4 separate regions of the Homo sapiens genome follow, and all the other regions are linked to region 1. The links are contacts of gene promoters, found by promoter capture Hi-C in human tissues and cell types (Jung and others, 2019). All regions are on one chromosome and are shown on one strand. Each heading gives the region's core, a stretch centred on a gene start or on the middle of the fragment in contact. The rest is flanking DNA. Distances are from core to core; before and after follow the strand shown.

Region 1 (4,658 bases), core at 1,841-4,340:
GTTTTTATGTTCCAGTGTGTTTACACAGCCCATAGTTCCCAATTGCCTTTATTTGCTTAAGTGTTTCTTTATTTACTTTTTTTTTTTTTTTTTGAAAAGAAGTCTCACTCTGTCGCCCAGGCTGGAGGGGAGTGGCACAATCTCAGTTCACCGCAACCTCCACCTCCTGGGTACAAGTGATTCTCCTGCCTCAGCCTCCTGAGTAGCTGGGATTACAGGCGCCTGCCACCAAGCCCAGCTAATTTTTTGTATTTTTAGTAGAGATGGGGTTTCACCATGTTGGCCAGGCTGGTCTCAACTCCTGACCTTGTGATCCACCTGCCTCGGCCTCCCAAAGTTCTGAGATTACAGGCATGAGCCACCGGCCTATTTACATTTTTATATATGTTGCTTTGCTTACATAACTCATTGTTCGGAGTGGGCTAGAAATAACCATAAATCCCCATTGCTAATTAGCCTCATCCTCATGACTGATTAGTCAAGATTATGAGTCTAGAAGGAGGGCAGAGAGGAGTCCTAATAGTGAGTCACAGGATTATTGAATTTTACAGCTGGAAGGAATCTTAGAATTTAAGGCATCTTTCAGTTAGAATTCTGTGGTTTTGCATCCTCAGCGTTGGAGAATTATGAAAGGTTGACCGCTTGCTCCTGCGCCTTTTGGCAAAAATGCTTAAGAATTTGGTGACAGCTTTAAAAAACAAATTAAGAATAAAGAAAAAACCCAATCAATGACGATTATAAGTAACCCATAATGGGGGCTTCAAAGAAGAATTGGAAACTTGACATATCAATGGGGTATAGAAGAGCAGAGAATATTAATGAACATGAAGGGGGTTCTTCTTTGGAGGTAAGTAAGCAGAGTGGATTTTTTGGAACTCCCTCCTCAGCAGCTGTGCAGTTTGTAAGGATTTTAGCTTGCCTAACTGTAAGCTTAGCTATTAGCTTTGCAGTGGGGAGTATTTAAAAGTACACACAACATATGAAGGAAAGAACCTGGAACCGAGTAGCCTGCTTCATTCCAAGAATCCATCTGGCATTTAAAGAACTGCTTGTCCTACATTAAACCCTGCAGAGTAAGAGCCATTTTTCATATCCTCATACCCCTATTTTTGGTTTCAGGTAAGACAGCTTACTGAGTTTGGAGAAGGAACAAAGAGACTTTTCCGAACCACCGAACCAAAGGACTCATCTAGGGTGAGCTCAATGAATCTAAAATCGGGAACACACATTGCAGCCCCTGTTTGGGAAATCAGCTTAAGAGCAATCTCAAGTCTCCACAAGAGGCGGAGGTCCATATTCCAAAATAATGTGAGCCTTCAGTTATTTGTAGGTAGAATTCAATGGAAGAAGGGGTGTTATAGATACGAAAAATCGTGGCTGGCGTTACCAACATTAAATGACTCGTGGTGATGGGGTAAGTTGACAAGTGAAATCCAGTCTCTTCCTAAACAAACGTATCTTTGTAATGAAGAGCTCGTTTTTGCAGCTTCAGTACATCTGGAGGCATCGAATAGCAAACGCTGCCAAAGGAGTAGTCCCTGGATTATCAGGAGTTGCAGAGTGTGTAAAGTGTTGTAAACCTTGAAATTAGTCCTGGACTGAAGGCACTTTCCCTCCTCCCAGACTCGCTTCTCTCTGACACATTTCCCCTTTCAATGGAAAGTCTATGGCAGTCAGGTCCACTCAGCTCAGACTTCAAGTATGTGAGACCACAGGTTCCCACCTTAACTGGTCACCCATTGAGGGACAGCACAAGACCCCGGTGCTGGCGCCAACGCTGAGCTGCGCCCTCTCGGTTACCATGGCGACCGCAGGCGGGGCGAGGCCCCCACTCGCCGCTTCCCCGCCTCTGCCCAGAACCTTTCGAACGCTCCAATTGGGACGACCCTTTCTTGCCTCTGTCCCGCCCCATTCGGCTCTAAGCGCTTTGCGATTGGCCCGGGACGAGCGGCCTGGTACCCAGAGGGCACCACCTCCTGACAGGAAGAGCGGGAAAGTGCACCAGGAGCTGTCCGAGGCGTGAAGCTCACGGGCGCGGCGGGGGAGCACACGGTTGGCTTTGCAGCGAGTTGCCCACTGTCCCATACACAACCCCCCGCTCCCATGACTGCCAAAAGCATGGAGCAGGAGTCGGGGTGCGGGCACACCGTTTGTGGGCCGGCCCGGTCTATCCCGGGGGGCTAGGACGCGACGAGGTTGGAGCGAGGATCCGGCGGCACACTCCGGAGCGCGGAGTATCAGAGGCCAGAGGGAACGGGCCGGGCCCCGGGGGCGGTGCCGGCGGCGGCGGCGGGAGGCGCAGAGCCCAATGAGCGCGCGCACCGCCCCGGGGGCGGGGTCTGAGGAGCGCTCCCCCGCCCTTGCCAGCCCCCGTCCCTCCCCCCGGCGCGGGGCCGCAGTGAGTGAGTGGCACTGGCAGCCTGTCAATCCCTCGGCCCAGCGGCCTTCCAGCCCGGTCCGCGGCGGCTGCTGGCTGGGTGCGCGGCTCCGGCGGCGGCGGCGGCGACTTCTCCCGCCCTATCCATCGGCTGTCCGCCCGGCGCGCGGCCCGCCGGGGCCCTCCTCCGGGCTCAGCGCCCCCGCCGCCTCTGCCCGCCCGCTCCCAAACTTTCCTCCTCCGCCCCCCCTCGCTCCCCGCGGCCCGCCCGCAGGCCTCCTCCTCCGCCGCCGCCCGCCGCCGCCGCCGCTGCCTCCCCCGGGGCCGCCGGGGCTCGGATCCCGCCTGGCCGAGGCGGCGGCGGCGGCCGAGGAGGGCAGTGCGCAGGCTGGCGCGGGGGGCGGCGGGCGTCCCGGCAACTCGGCGGGCGCTGAGGAGCAAGTTGCGCGGGGCCGCCCGGCGGGGCGCGCGGCGGCGAGGAGGCGGCGCGGCGGCCGCGTGAGGGCAGCGGGCGCCGCCGCCTCCGCCTCCGCCACCGCCGCGGAGCCCGGCGCTTCCGCCCGCCGCTTCTCCTCAGCCTCGGCGGCGGCGGAAGCCGGAGCCGGGCGCCCGTCCTCATCGCCTCAGCCGCGGGCCCTGCCGGCCGGGCCGCCCCCTCCCCGCGCGGGCGGGGAGCGCGCGGCCGCCTCCCCCTCCCCCTCCCCCTCTTTCTTCTCCTCCCTCGTCGCCGCCGCCGCCGCCGCCGCCTCAGCCTTCGCCTCAGCCGCCGCCCGCTCCCGCCCGCGCGCGGCGGGATGGACGATCAATCCAGGATGCTGCAGACTCTGGCCGGGGTGAACCTGGCTGGCCACTCGGTGCAGGGGGGCATGGCCCTGCCGCCTCCCCCGCACGGCCACGAAGGGGCGGACGGCGACGGCAGGAAGCAGGACATCGGCGACATCCTCCACCAGATCATGACCATCACCGACCAGAGCTTGGACGAGGCGCAAGCAAAGTTGGTGTCGTCTCATTAAGCATCTTTTGTGTGTGTGCGGGAGCCGGGCCCGCGGCCGAGTCGAGGCCCGGGGTGGCGCCCGGGGCTAGGGCCGCAGCCCCCGGCGGGGAACTTTCTCCGAAAGCCGGCCGCCCGCCCCGGCCTCGGGGGGACTTGCCCGCGCCCCCCGAAGCGGGCGGGAGTCGGCAAAGTTGCTCTGGGGGGCTCGGGACGGACTCGGTGCGGCGCGGATTCCGTGGCGTCCTTTCCCCCGTCCTGCCCCTCGCAGCCCGGCCCCCTCCCAGGGATTTAAACCTCCCGCCCCGACCCCGTGCGGGCCGCGCCGCCGGGAAGTGTAACTTTCTCCTCCGGCGGGGAGTCCCGGCGCCGGCTCCCGCGGCCGCGGGACGACCTCGCGATGCGGGCGGCCACCCGGGCCCGGCGCGGGGCGATGGGCGGTTCCCTGGCGGGTCCGGGTGCGGACGGCCAAGTTCTCGGAGAGGGAGGGCCGCCTTGCAAACTTTGCCGAGCTGTCACCCTCCCGCTGGCCGCAGTCGGCCGGCCTCCTCTGCACAGGAGCGGACGCGGGAGCCCCTCCGCACCCGTCCCCTCCCCCGGGTCGCCTTCGCCTGCCCCCGGGGCGAGGCTCCCCGCGCGGGTTCGCGTCGCGTCTGCAGTGGCCGAGGCTGCTGCCTGCCGGGCAGATGGGTCCGCCTTGTTCCGGCTGCAGCTTTCGCCGCCGGGGCTTGCTGGCTGTCGGGAACTAGTCAACTGGAGTTTTTGTTGACTTCCCACGGTTCAAAAGGGCCTTCCAGAATGGGGGGCTGGAATTAAATCTTGGGTCTAACTTAAAGGAAGGCGCCATATTATTCCATAGGTGATGCTAATACCTTTGTGTTTCGTTATTTGTTTTTTAGGAAACATGCCCTGAACTGTCACAGAATGAAACCAGCGCTCTTCAGCGTCCTGTGTGAGATCAAAGAGAAAACAGGTAAGACGCTGCGCCCCGCAGTGGGCCTGGAGACCCCCGAGGTGGGGGTCGGAGCTACTCCTTCGACTCTCCAGTTGAGAGCTGCTGCTTTTGGGCACCGCCATCTTTGATCATTCTCTCCTTCCCACGTCCTGATCTTGAGAAAAAACTGCAATAAATCTGGAGTCAATTTCTCAGTTCTGCTCCTGGTGTAAAATGAAGTGTAGGTGCGGACCGGGCTGGATCGCCGTCCCTCGGCGGCCGCCCCTGGCTGCAGGCGGGGAGGGGGCCCGGAGCGCCAGCCGCCCTCTTCCCTCTCCTTTCGCCTTGTTTGTGTG
Region 2 (4,658 bases), core at 719-3,218, 690 kb after region 1:
GAAGCCACCTGTCTTGTTTGGACAGAGTACCTGAATCCAACTACTGTCACACAGTTGGTGTTTGTGCCCTGAATACTGAATGGCTTTTTCCCTCTTTTTATTAATGGCCAGTGATAGTCCTAAATGCATTTATGTTTAAAAAAAAAAATCTTCAATCCTGCAGCCTGGAGTTTGGATGGAATATATTTATCACCTATCCCAGAGAATAAGGTTCTTGATTCCCCAGATTTGTCTTACAATTGTCTGTAAGACAATGAATGATACAGAACTCTCCTCCAAGGTTGAGATCCTTTGTTAGAGAGCAGTTTCTTACGCCTGACTTGTTTTATAGCATGAACGATCGCATGATCCACTGGCGAGGCAACATCCATAATTTTGAATGAGGGAGTAAAGCTTGCCTCGGTGGCCCTAAGCATCGCTTCTGGTGACACACTTAGAAGTCCTTAATCGCTTGCTACCTAGAGGCAATAAACACACCTATCTTTATGTTCCATTGCCTGTGTGTTTACCTGAAATATGCCCTGTGTAGCAAAACGCCAGTTTCACTCCTGTGAGAAGGTCCTTGGCTCATGAATTGCACGGCCTTCACTCACCCCTATTTTGCCAAAGGTGGTAGTGCCTTTTGTAGGCCCAAGACGTAGCTTCTTTGGCCAGGAAACCCCTTGGCTATTTATGCTTCTTGTAAAACTCTGGCCATTTGCTTGGTTTCCGAGTTCTAAGAAAGGAGATCCATCTCTGGTCATCATGTGGAGTTCAGGGTTCATTCTGGAGGGCAAGATGATGTCTCCTTCACTGGTGTGTGCCTGATGCCCAATGCCCAGCCCAGGGCCTAGCATACAGGGGATGTTCCATGACACTCAATGTTTCGTTGATTCTGAGAGGACCTGGGTCTTAGAACTGGTTCACCCTTTTGTATCCACCCTTTCCAGCTACATTACTTTAGACAGTTTATATAACATTGCAGTCTGTTTTCTTTTTTTTTTTGTAATTTTGAATTATATTTTCTCTTCTGAATTTGAGGATTAAAGATAATGTACATGAAATACCCAGTGCCTAGTACCAAGAGGGCACTCCAGAAGTGGAGCTGCTATAACTGCCGTAAATATTGTTATTCCAGGGAATTGCTGCTTATTATACCAGAAGGCACTGGTCTCATTCACCCTGCAGTGTGACCTCACCTAAAAGTCCAGCCGGGGATGGAGAGGGTGCAGCTGACAGAGGGAGCTCATGAATGGTGGGACCTGGCATGGCTCAGGGAAACTTTTGGCATAATAGAAGGCAAACCCTCCCTTCTAGTTCAGAAATGTGTAATTGCTGGAGATGTTAGCTTGCTACTGGGTAAAATGATTTTAAAGAGAGAACTTCTCAACATTTAAATCAGCCTCAATTTTCCATGTTCCTTTTCATCAAGTCAGCTCTGGTTTGAGAAGGGATCATATCGGCACTCAACCCTTTAAATGATTTTCCTTCTTTGCCTTTCTTTTTCTTTCTCTTTGGCCTTGGCTCCTTCCTTTCCAACCACTCCCCTCCCAGAACCTCTTATTTTAGCCAAAAAAAAAAAAAAAAAGTTTCTTTCCTTGCTCCAGAATCACACCACCCACCGAGCACATCATCTGGAAGTCCCCTGTCCCTGAGCTCACTTGCTGCCAGGCCGGCGGCACCCAGAGGCTCGAAGGCCACAGGGGCACACCGTCTTTTCTCAGGGTTGGAGAGAGTAGATTAGACAACATCCTCAGATGTCCCGTCTCATGGCAGGTCACTGCCACTGTGAAGGGTACGGCTGTAGATGCGGGGGGACTGCTTGTTTCTTCAGGCTACATTTTTTAAAAAGAGATCATACCTTTTCTTTGGATTTAATGAGGACAGACATTTTAATCAGAGGTTAGTCATTTATTTTTGCAAACTATTGTTTTGATTCATCATTTTTGCAGATAATTAAATGGTTCAGTTGGCACAGTATGTCTACTTTATTAAAACAGGTAATTTTGGGGAAAAAAAGAGATGCTGTTTTTTGGATCACTGCACAAGAATTGCTTTTATCTTCATCTTTGAGCATAGTTTCTGGTTATTTTGCCAGGAGGCTCTCTCGTGTTCGGGCATTTGGGGTCCTTTCTGGTCTGGAGGGGCTTGCCCTTTGATGATTGGGATGTTAGCAGATACGCCCTTTGAAACGGGAGCTGAAGAGTAAATTCTGTGCAGCCGCCTTTTAGGAACACTCTTAGGTTTTAATTGGATTGGGAAAAAGAACCTACAAGTTATGAACTTTGCAGAGCAGCAGTTCTTATGCTAAAAACAGATTAATTGTAGCCCTCGCAGTGGGTGGAGTTTCAAAGTCAATTACTGCTTGTCCTATTATAATTTACACACACAGGATTTGAAAAAGTCTGCCACTTAGTATAAAAGTGAAAAGGTTACGTGTACTAGTTTGAGTATACCTATGACTTTTCATTTGTAAATGCTTTAGCTACATGTATGTGTATGTATGCAACTTGCAGCTGTGGAGCTGTAACTACATCTGTGAGCAAGATTCCTTATGAAGAGTAACCTTTAAGGTCTGGTTCCTTAAATCCGTAGTGGCTCAGCATATAGTCCTTTGTCTGGCAGTCCAGTCCACTTGTGGGCACAGTGGCTGGCCCCTGCAGAGCCTAAGGGGCACTCCACTCATGAGTCATGAACTAGTAAGGGAATGGCCCTTCCTGGGTCAATTTTTTAAAAGCGAATTGCTCACAACATTTGCTTTCTTTAATTTTTTCCATGTTTGTGTCCTGAATCAGTTAATTTACTCATTAAAAGAATTTATTTTAGGTGGACCAATTAAAACTTTGGAAGCTAATTTTTTGCTGAGCAGAGCAGACCTCTGAAAACACAATTTATAACATGGCTTCTGCCCTTCCACAGAGAGCTGTCTTATGGTACTGTAACCTCTGGTGCTTGCAGAAGTACAAAATTGCTGTTCTTTGTCCTCCAGCTCTGGAGCTGAGCTGCCGTGTGGGTGGGTTTCTCGAGCCTTCCCATTGTTTTAGGGTGAACAGGCAAGTCTGAAAAGTCCAGCCCAGCCCAGGAGTGGCATGCTGTATTTGTTTGCTTGCGTAAACTCCATAGTTTAATTTTTTTTAATAGGAAGCTGCTATGTAGTTCGGATATTTAAACAGTTATTAACCGAATGACAATTAACAGATTGCATAGACAGATTTTCTTTTGAAAACCTCTGAAATTGAGTACAGTTTGCAAAACTATCACGGCATAGTAATGACAATGAATTTTGATTTCCCGGAACTGATATTAGACTCCTTATTAAACTATGTGCATCTGCTTTTAATTTACTCCAAATAATTGGAAAATGCAATGAAGCTTTCCAATTAAAGCACGGCTTTATGCTGTTTAATAATACCCCCATAATATTATAGCTTATGAAGTGACAGGTGAGTTGGTGTATGAATAAAACATAAAGGCAGCAATAAGGGACAGAAAACCGGAGACAGTTGTGGGGATTTTAAATGCTGGATGTAATTTGCATATATTAATCTCTTCTTTTCAGCCTTATCAGGCGTTCTTCAGTATTTGAAGTTAAAATAGCGTTGACAGGCGGGAGTACGCTTAGTTTTTTCAAGGATTTATTACTTGTATAATTTCTGATCTTTAATAAGCAGATATGACTGATCCTCATAGTTCTATAGAAATCAGTTAATTGTTCCAGATGGCGTGTACTGATTATGCAAAATTACTTTTCACACCATTTTTTTTGTGATGGAGTTTGGAGTAAAATTAAATTTTTTATAGCCTTCTTATCATGCTGTTTTACAGTGGTTTTTCCACAGAAGTTGAATTTAATCTACTATATTACATTGACCAACACAGTTATTCTAATGTAGCATTTTGTGATTTGACAGAGAATAATAGAACACATTGCTCATTGTTCATTACTGTGTCCCTAATAAAAAGGAACTCCTGTGTATAGAACATAGCTGTTATTTATGAAGAATGCCTAATTCATACAGTTAAAAATGCAAAATTGTATTATGAAGTAGTTCCTTTTGGGGAGAGAATATCTGGAAAAAGCAAATGGAAATAGGCTTGTTGCTGCAGATTCTACATGCTAAGGGAGGAGCCTTCTTTTAATGACCAGCGTGTTTAAATTGTGCTACTTTCTCCTTTGAAGAAGGAAAAACCCAGATAATCTTATTCTATTAACAGAGGTGTCACTGGTTGACTTGTCTTGATTTACATAATCCCAAAAGTCTTTCATAATTGAATAGCATTTATAAAAGGTGGTTACACTTTAGTGTAAAGTATCCAAAAAAAAAAAGTCTAAAGGTGTCAATGATAATTCGTCTCTAACATTTTCCAAAGTGTCTGTTTATCACCAAGGCCCTTGTGTTGGTGTCGGATCCAAGTCCAGGTGGTGTGTACCCCTAGGTAACATTCATGTAGGCTGATCCTCGTCCAGGTTCTCAGATAACACTCTCTCTATGGCTCAGCTGCTAGTGGGATATGAAGTACTCAGCCGACTCACTCCAAAATGGGACTGAGGGACTGTCACCTTGATGCAGGAGTGGATGCAGTTTCCGTCCTTTGGGAGGACCTCTTCCCAGAGCCCAGTGGGGTGGGGGTAGGGGTAGAGAGCTCTCTGTTGCATCAGAAATCCTGTTTGGATATGC
Region 3 (4,658 bases), core at 806-3,305, 650 kb after region 1:
ATCGAATGGGCAGAGTACCAAGAAATCATGACTCATCTCAACCCACAACGCCTTCCCAGTCATCAGCTGCCTCCACCCCAGCCCCCAACCTTCCCAGGTGAGGCCTTGTCGGGGTGTCTTGCGTTGTCCTGTGGTCTTAGGTCCCTGCACAACATTTTAGAACACCACCACTTAGTGTCTGCTGAAATACTGCAAAGTACAGCTGAATAATTGTAGAAGCAATATATCTTTAGAGGAGATTTTTAAAAATCCACTTGGAAATCTTTGCATTACATGAATGCAAAGGCCATTCTATAGTCTATTTTGTGCGTGTTCTGCAGGCTTCTAAAATTGCAGATTATGCAACTTAAAATTGGCTCCCTATTCAAAAGAGCTGCTAGCTACACACAGACACGTGCTGTATAGCCATGGGGTTGGGATCACTGGCCTTAAGGTCAAATTCCTTCTCTGTCTTGGCCAGCAACTCATTTGAAACCCAGGAGGGTAGGTGAGTTCTTATATTCTTCATTTTCATATAATTTCTTTTTCCAATGAGCTATAAAGTAAGAAATGGGTAGTTTGGGTATGAGAGAATAGTGAGGAGTTTTTCAGGAAATGCTAGTTTTAACAATTGTCTCCGCAAAGAAACTTGGGTGAGCCAACTGTTTGCTCTGCAACTGATTTCAGTCATAACAGAGGTAGTAACAGTCTCTACACTTTCTGCAAAAAGAATCCTGTCAAATAAAAATCCTGTGCATCACTAGGAGTAAACTAAGGGCAAGGAACAAACAGCACTGATGGATTAAGCTTGAGAAAGGGATTGCAAAAGTAAATAAAACAAGAACGGTGAGGCAGCAACACTTAGGGATTGACATAACGTAAATGAGAATGGATCTCCAAGCTTCCACGTGGGTGAATAGAGATGAACAAAATCTGTCAGGAACCGGACAGAAGAGTCACCAGTAGGTCTTCCTGGGCCATCCACAATACAGCCTGCCCTCCGGGACATACCACCAGCTCTCTGTACTCTGTTCCTCTGTGCCAAGCCTCCGTCTCACTTGGAAGAATGTGCTGTAATGAGGCTCCAAAGCCCTGAGGACTCTGTCCTCTGGGACATCCCCCTATAAAGACAATCTGGTCCTTCTCATGACAGTTTCACAAACCAAGAGTGGTATTTAAACTTAACTACCCCTGGAATTGCCTGAAACTTTAGAAGTAGTTTTCAGTTTCATTTGGCATAAAAAGATAGGAATCTCTAATAAGCCTCCCAGAGTTGCAGGGTGAACAGTTGAGTCTCTGTTGGGTTCAAGAGTGTGAGGTTCGCACTGCCCATCAGCACTTGTTCCTCACTTCTGAGCCAGAGCGCTGTCAGCTCCGCCCTGGAGGGCACTGCTGAGGGTCACTGTCTCCTGTGCTCAAGGCTATATCAGGTGTGTCACCTGTGCTGGGGAGTCAGCTAAGTCCATCACCTGTGTGTCGGGGTCCTCCATCACCTGTGCTGAGGCCCATCACTTGTACTTGGAGCAGCTCAAGTGTGGGCTCCTTGCAGAGGCTGGAAAGCCCCCACAGGAGCAGTTGCCCTGAAGTTGTTACAGCTGCTCCCTGCTGACATCATGTGGTCTAGAAGGGCCCAGAAATGGGCACCACCTCAGGCAGGTTTTGACTTTCTGTGGTTAAAGAAAGAACACCAGTTCTCTCAGATAAAGCAGAGAGAGCTCTCAGAAGCCTGCTGGTGACTGTGAGAGCAAAGTCACTTGCACCTGAAGCAAGACAGCCGAGAACACCGAGCCACCGGCAGCCTGGTGGGTTTGGAGGGTAGTGCGTCAGAACCAGATGTTTATAAGGCTTATGTATTTTATCACCTCTGCTGTACAGTTTATGGTTTACAATGGCTGCAAGGAAATCGGATCAGTTTTGTTTTACTTGCCAAATAAAACAAATGTCAAAATAGTCAATATAAAATGTATTCTAATTTGGCTGAGTTAAGTCAGCCAATATGCAACAGGATAATTGAATGTTCATTAGTGCTTCCAAGTAAAAGCCATTTGTCTGTCCCAAGTTCTCCTGTGCGGTAATTTACAGGTAGGATGCACACCTATGTAAGCCTCATCCATCAGGGTTTTTTGGTTTTTGTGGGGTTTTTTTGTGTGTTGTTTTCCTATCCAGTATCTTTGATTTATTTTAAAATGAAATGTTGATTATTCATTCAAATTTTCCATTGAAGACCTAGGAAAGGATGAGTATGCTGTTTTATTCCTTGAGGCTTCAGGTCTCTACACTCTCCAGAGGAGGAATCTGATCACCTCCCCTCTGGTGGGGAGCAGTGGCTGGGGCTTGTGCTCCGAGTGCTGGGGGTCTACCAGGAGCCTATAGGGTAAGGCAGGCCCCTCAGTGGGGCCTGCAGGGCTGCACACCAGCTCCGGGATTTCCTGTCTTCCCTTTCCCAGCCAGAGCCCCAGACATTAACGTGCGCTGGCAGCCTCCTCCTCCCCTGGCTTCTGCGCCTTTGCTCCCGGTGCTCCCTGCACATGAGGTGTGTTTGACAGGTCTCAGCGCAGAGGACTTCTCTCCCGGGAAGCCCTCCCAGAGGCTCCTGGGCTGGGCCTGTGCTGGGTCTTCTTCTGTGAGCGCTTCCGGGGCATCTCGAGCCCGTGTGGTGGTGAGGGCATGTGGTGAGCCTCCGAGGAGCTCCCCAGCGCCTACCTGAATCCAGGCACGAATTCAGTTTCACCATAAATGCGTCCCTGGCAACCCCTCCAGACTACTCCCTGGTCCCTGAGCACTGCGCGGGTCTTTTCCTATGGCGAGAGTAATCCAGGCTTGTAGAAAATTGGCAGAATGTAGAAAGTATGAAAAAACAGGAATTCCATTTCCCACGAGCAGATGCTTATAACCTTTTGTTATATTTCCCTCAAGTCTTTTTCTTGTGTACTTTTTACATAGGTGATATCATATCGTGTAATAGCAAGTCTGCATCTTGCTACTCTTTTCTCAGGTAGCCTTAACCATAAACCTGAGAACCACGTCCAGTGCGGTCTTTGTGTGGCGTGGATCGGGCCTCTGGGAGCGCGGTGACGCAGCGCCCTCTACTGCCCAGCCGTGGCGGTGGCGGGGAATGCGGTTCTGAGCCGGAGCTAGTGGCAGGCTCTTTCGCCGCAGAGCCCTGGCCCAGGCCAGCCAGGAGGACCTAGGAAGCGGTGGGTCACAGATCTTGCTGCCTTCTTGAGTCTGTATTCCTCTCCAAAGCCAAAACCATGTGCTCCGCCTCCATTTCTTGTGTCATCGCTCAGATTTCAAAGAATTTCCTGCCATTTTTTGGAATGCCGTTCATTCCCAGCTTTACTTCAGACAAAGGTGGATCTTTGCACCGTCTGTAGGCCATCACCTGAGGACCTCGTGGTTCTAGCAGCACTGCCTTCTCTGTCCAAAAGCAGGAACTGCCTCTAGAAGCAGGAGCTTCCCGCAGAAGCTCCGTTATTGCAGAAAATGCTGTGGTGTCACCGGCTTTGGAGTTGTCCTTTTGGAGCAGGCAGGTCCCCAGGGAGAGGGATGCTCCTGGGCTGTATCCAGTGAGTTGGTGGCTAAGGTGGTAGAAGGTAGCTTGGCAGAGCTCCTCTCCCTCATACAGTGATGCTTCATCTCACATACAGACATCGCCACACACATCTCTTGACTGTCTTCTAGTGAAGAAGGGCAGCCACTTCTTCTGGGACCCAGAGCCTCTCCATATCTCTGGCCGCAGGCGCTCCATCCCCTGCCTGCCTATGTCATGCACGTCGATCAACAGGAGAGAGCTGGCCTGGGGACGGAGGCACAGTCCCATCTCTGTGGCCCTCTTTGGGGCTGGGCCCAGCTTTGTGAGTCAGCCTTGGGCATGTGATCAGATGGTGGGGTTTCTGATTCAGCTCTGTGATGCTGTCTGGGGCAGGGGGCCAAGAGAGGAAACACCTTCCTGGCCTCTATCAGAGCAGCCCCTCCACCGTCTGTCACATGCAGGGCGTCACCTGTTTCTGCTGGGAAGAAGAGGTTCCGCTGCTGCTGGGACAGAGGTTGGGAAGAGCCCCAGGAGGCAGGTGGGCTCACAACCGCTGGAGCACCAGAAGTCCCCAGTGTGATAAGGGAATGGCTCTGTGTCGACCCAGGAGGAGTCCCCTGGTGGGCTGCAGCCCTCTAGCTCAGCAAGCAGCAGAACCATGGCTTGATAAAGACATCAGAGGCATGCTTATCAAATTTGCAGATGATGCAGAGTCATTAGGGTGAGCTGACGTGCTGAATGATAGAATCAATACTCTGCATCTCCTCTACAGCCAGAACAACCTGCTGGAGCCATGGGAGGCGATGGGCGCAGGCGGAGAGGGCCCCCGAGGTTCAAAAATCCATCACACAGGAGCCAAACTGAGGCCTGGCTTAGCAGCTAAGTGTGTGAAATGGCGGGGGTCGGAGCGTGGGTGTGTGGAGTACAGCCTGGTGTGCACAGCGGGAGGCCCTGAGTGGAGTCCTGCTCCTGGGGCGTGTGCACTGCCTCACACCACCAGGCAGAGGTTACCCAAATCCAGTGTCAAGTTTGAGGAATCCAGTTTGGAGCTGAGTAGAGACAGGCCAGCCTGCTGCAGATGTCTTAAGGGTCAATGGCAGGAGAGAAAGTAGAAGTGTTTCCAGGTGGGGATGGAGGGGTGGAG
Region 4 (4,658 bases), core at 1,029-3,528, 590 kb after region 1:
GTAAATATTCACTCAAATATTTACTTAGTGCCTACTGTGTGCAGGAAGCACTAAGCCCTGTGTTTTATGCAGATAAACCTGCCTGGTAAATGAAACTTGAAAACAGAAAATGATGCAGTGATGCAGTGTGGTACCCCCTGCCCTGGCCGTTTAGAAGCTTATTTTCAGAAGAATTAGGTAAAGCATAACTTTGTTAAGCTTTGTTGTAAACAGAAGAGGAGACTGCAGCTGTGCCAGGCACTTCCTAGCCTTGATCGAGGACTCAGCTCCATTGCATTGACAAGTCTGTTTCCGGAGCTTTTTGTGGGTTCCACTGACTTCATGGGAGACTTGCATACAGCATTTTGATTGTTCCTATTTAGAAGGCTGCAGTCATTTTTAATGGCCTCTGCCTTTTCTGATTCTAGGCTAGAAGCAAGAATATTCCTCCTGCCTGCTTAGTGAGGTAGGGTGTTTGGTTTGTATTAGAAGCAGTAACCAGCCTTGAGAGATCTGGCAGACCTGCAGCCAGTGGAGTTTAATTGTTGCAGAAGGAGGTGGAATTTGACTTGCTCTTTTTCACTGCTTGTCCTTTTAAAAGTACTTAGGTTCATTTACATATGGTGTTGCCTCTTTTATTTGCTTTCTGGTGCACTGCCACTCCAGCTGCCCAGACCCAGTGCTCTCTATATTCTACCTTTCTCCTCTGGTCACATCAAGAGGCAGTCAGCAGCAGAATAATAATTCCATTTTCCCTCCCTTTCTCTCAAAGTGCCCAGCAAGAATTATGATCATTGTTAGTATTTGGCTTTGAGTAAGTGCCCACATGACCCGAGGGTAAAACACAACAAAGGGATCTGCCAGTCCCCTATGGAGTGACGCCTATCACATTTCTGACCAGTTACCTGGACTTGTGTGTCCCAAACCCCACCAGTTTTATGTGCTTTTTTTGAGCGCCTACTGTATACCAGGGACCTCTCCAGGCCTTTCATTTACATCCACTGTCTTTGACTCTCTTGGTCCTCACAGCAGCTCTGCAAGGGTCAGTATCATGACCTCCTTTTATAGCTGAGAAAATGAAGGGTCCAGGAGGTTAAATTGCTTACTCAAAGTCACCAGCTAGTCAGTCATGGAGCCTGGACTCCAACACCATTCCTTCACCTGAGCCCAGAACACTTATTTCTGTGTTTGCAACATTCCTTGCTTCTTTGCAAAGCTCTGCGTGCTGAAGGCCTAACCTTGGCTGTGGGTTTGGAAGTCTAGGCCTCCGTAGGAGAGATTGCAAGGGAGAGAGAGGAAAGGTGTTGTTAAGCTTAGCCGTGTCTGACATGTCTTCAGAGCAGCTACTGGTATCTGTTCAGAAATCAAGCAGCTGGATGGCGGAGTTAAGAATGACGTGCTCTTGGGTTTGAGTCAAGCTCACCTCCTGAGAGTAGAGACAAGCTCTCATCTTAGCTCAGTGTTCAAAGCTAACCTGAGAAGAGTGGGAAACAGAGGTGATTTGAATTCTTGACCTGGGGAAAGGGTCACATAGGGTCAGGACTCATTCAACCAGTACAGGTATGTGAAACTCAGGGTATTTGCCCCAAGATTCTGGTTCTGTTTGAGACTTTATATTATTCACATAAATGCTATGTTTGAATTTTGTGTTTTCTTTTTCCTTTGCTGAACCAGGACCAGTCCACCATGCCTGAAGTCAAAGACCTCTCAGAAGCCTTGCCAGAAACGTCAATGGATCCCATCACGGGAGTCGGGGTGGTGGCTTCTCGGAACCGAGCCCCGACAGGCTATGACGTAGTAAGTCAAGATACTAGTTTGTACATTTTGCTCACTGATTCTACAAGTATTTATCTCCTGTGTCCAAGACCTTCTGGCCCTTGCGTGTAAGATGTGCTTCTTCCCTCTAGGAACTTAATCCAGGGAGGGCGTGGAGAGCATCCTGGTTTGGGAGTCAGAAGACCTGAGCCCATCTGGGCCGTTTCCTGGCCTTGACCACCTCTGTGATGGTCATTTTCACCTTCTGTAAAATTAAGGAGTTAGATTCATTGATTTTCAACTTCTGGTTGTGACATTTCGTGAAAAGGATCCAGAGTCTATGAACGACTCCTGGTGGTTTTCATATATTGTCATGCATGTGTAAATATTGTAAAGGCATTGTCCTACGTCTGTGTAGCTCTTTACAGTTTAAAATGTTTCCTACCCATGAACTCATTTAGCTCTCTTGGGCTTTTGGAAGGCTGGGAGGGCAAGTAGCTGTATCACCTCTTTGCTGATTAGGAGAACCCACGCTCTGAGAAGTCAAGTAACAGAGTCCCAGTCCTTGGATATGGTGAATCATCAGGACCAGACCCCCTCCAAGTCCAGTGCTGTGGCTGACCACACCACCACAGTTTAGTGGAGAACTTTCCTTGCTTTTCAGCAGACATCTGTGCTGGTGTTCAGTAGTCCTGATGATTGGAACTGGTTATGTTGTTGTTTCAGTAGGTAAATTCTGATTCGGGTGGAGCTTGCAAAGTACAGAGGAACGTTAGGAGGGTTTAATTAACAGTGGATATTATCATGTGTTCTGAGATTCTAAGGTGGTCTTATGTTTACTTTCCTCACTTTGTTTGTGACGTTTTGTTCTTATTCACTGAAAATGTGCACCAAGAATGCATAAGAGTGAAAGAACACGAATCTCATTAGCCAACACTGAAAACCTCCCACAGCAATTAGAATAGTCTCTGATGTCCTGCAGTGAGGAGAATGTGATGCCTGGTCCAGCAGAAGAAGCCCTAAGGCAGGGTTTCCCAACTTCAGCACTGTTGACATTTAGGGCAAGACAATCCAATAATTCTTTGCTATATGTTTTCCTGTGCATCGTATGATGTTTAGCAGCATTCCTGGCCTCTCCTTAGTGAATACCAGTAGCACCTGTCCCTCCTCCCCCAGTGGTGACAACCCAAAATGTCTCCAGACGTAGCCAGATGTCTCCAGGAGCAGGGGGTGGCTGGGCAGAATCACCCCCCATTGAGAACTGCAATGGTCAAGGCAGATCTGTACTGAGTCAGCCAGTGCTGGGTCCTGGGTAAGGAAGGAGGAGCCTGTTCAAATGCTACACATCCCTTCTCCAACTGTTTGAAAGCTCATAAACATTTTAAAAGTGAAAAAGTGAAGGAAACTTTTCTGACAAACATTTCAGTCTTAGCTGCTGCTTGACTTCAAAGTGTGGTTTGAATGTATAACTTTCCATAAAATAGAATCATTAGGTATGGCTTTGTGCCACGAAACTCTGGGGGAAGCTAATAAAAATGTTCCTGATTTGAGAAGCCAAAGTGTCTTTTGATGAATTAGGGATGAAGCAGCAAGTCATGAATCAAGGCAGGGACTGGGAGTTCCCGCTGTGGGAGAGGACGGGCTCAGGGGTCGCTCTCCTAGGAGGGCTCTCAGGGAGCTTGAGCCCAAGGCAGGGGTCTCCCCATCTTCCCATGCCCTCTTTTGTTGATCTGTATCTTTAGCATTCCGTTTGTACCTTTAGGGTCATCCTGCTTGCCTGGGTAGTGGGTGGCAGATGGCCTTTGATAGTTTGGTTTTCTGGAAGTCTTGGTAAGTCTGACAGGAGCAGAATCTATCCCTATCATTTTCTCCTAACATCTAGCTCAGGGCAGAAGAGCGCAGTGTCAAATGAGTAAAATTAATAAGCACATTTCATGATTGTGCTGTGCCATGCATTTTAGTGGGAGGTTAGCAGGGCAAGGGGCTTGAGCTCATCCGCCCGGTAATTACCCAGCTCTGCACGGCCGAGGTGGAGACTGCCTGGGCTCCCTCTGAAAGCCCTAACAGGGAGAGAGGTGGGAGTCCCCTCTTGGTACTGGCCTCTGGACTGTGTGCAGATAAGCGTCTCGTTCCCCAGAGGTCTGGCCCCAAGTTCAAGGAAGGCGGGGAGGGCATGGTGAGAAGAGAGACTTCTCATTCCTTTTATCTGGAGTTTCATATTAAGTCAATATCCAAACCAAAGTGCAAGGCGCTCTGTGGTGGCTAGGCTGCAGAGATGCTTAGACAGAACTCCAGCAGATGAGGAAGCCCTGCTGCGGATTGGGCCGAGACCTCTCTCTGTCTGTTGTAGCTGCTGTAGGATTAATTTCTCCCTGCGCACAGAGCCCGTTAAGTACTGCCACCACGCAGCCCTGCGAGTTAGGCACCAGATGGACTGGTGGCCCTGAGTAGCACAACTGCTTTAAAATGAGCTTAGGTCCCATTGCTGCTTGAGGTAAAAGGTGCCAAATGTTCATTTATAAAAATTTAATTCAATAACTTCCCTTCTCTCTGGGTCAGGGGAGCCTTCTTAGGCTAGGGGGCTGGGGATTATTTGCTAAACTTCTCAATTTATTGTTCCGACGTCTGCGGTCCTCTCTGAAAGAGCCTCGCTTTTCTGTTCTGCACCCACACTATCTGGGAGTGACTGGTGCTTCTCTCCCCTTGCAGTCAGAGTTGGGGTGAGTCTCGTGCATCTTTGTGATGCCACGTGCCCGGAGTAGTGACTATATGTCATAGATGACTAGTGTTTGCCAAAGGTAGTGCATGCTGTTTTATCCTGGGTGGATGGTCAGTTTTCGAAGAATTGTAATGCTATAAGAAGCACTTCCGGCTACAGTGCCTGTGTGCAGAATGTAACCTTTGATTTACAAGCCACTCTGGGA

Evidence for each region. The method cuts DNA at HindIII sites, captures the fragments that hold promoters and counts their contacts. A contact is called where the count stands out against the background at its distance.
Region 2: a contact is called between a fragment that was not itself captured here and the fragment with the promoter of PBX3 in region 1, in 2 of the 25 tissues and cell types used here (dorsolateral prefrontal cortex and hippocampus).
Region 3: a fragment that was not itself captured here is called in contact with the fragment with the promoter of PBX3 in region 1 in 3 of the 25 tissues and cell types used here (dorsolateral prefrontal cortex, hippocampus and thymus).
Region 4: a fragment that was not itself captured here is called in contact with the fragment with the promoter of PBX3 in region 1 in 2 of the 25 tissues and cell types used here (dorsolateral prefrontal cortex and hippocampus).

What each region holds. Positions count from the first base shown.
Region 1 is chr9:125,744,283-125,748,940 of GRCh38, forward strand. It overlaps PBX3 (PBX homeobox 3), which reads left to right and starts at 3,091. Exons shown (of 9, transcript NM_006195.6): 1 at 3,091-3,371; 2 at 4,268-4,341. The coding sequence starts at 3,172. PBX3-DT (PBX3 divergent transcript) reads right to left here and starts at 1,647. Exons shown (of 2, transcript NR_122032.1): 1 at 1,134-1,647. RefSeq lists silencers at 2,186-2,615, 2,866-2,915, 2,926-3,455, 3,726-4,065. The HindIII fragment of the contact is 5,465 bases long and covers 1-4,658 here.
Region 2 is chr9:126,434,109-126,438,766 of GRCh38, forward strand. All of the region lies in intron 7 of MVB12B (multivesicular body subunit 12B), which reads left to right. Among named protein-coding and RNA genes, the nearest start is that of NRON, 26 kb to the left of the region's middle. RefSeq lists an enhancer at 2,013-4,352. The HindIII fragment of the contact is 5,330 bases long and covers 1-4,633 here.
Region 3 is chr9:126,395,601-126,400,258 of GRCh38, forward strand. MVB12B (multivesicular body subunit 12B) reads left to right here. Exons shown (of 10, transcript NM_033446.3): 6 at 1-97. Among named protein-coding and RNA genes, the nearest start is that of NRON, 13 kb to the right of the region's middle. RefSeq lists a silencer at 2,969-3,028. The HindIII fragment of the contact is 7,281 bases long and covers 1-4,658 here.
Region 4 is chr9:126,338,855-126,343,512 of GRCh38, forward strand. MVB12B (multivesicular body subunit 12B) reads left to right here. Exons shown (of 10, transcript NM_033446.3): 2 at 1,654-1,776. Among named protein-coding and RNA genes, the nearest start is that of MVB12B, 14 kb to the left of the region's middle. The HindIII fragment of the contact is 5,578 bases long and covers 1-4,658 here.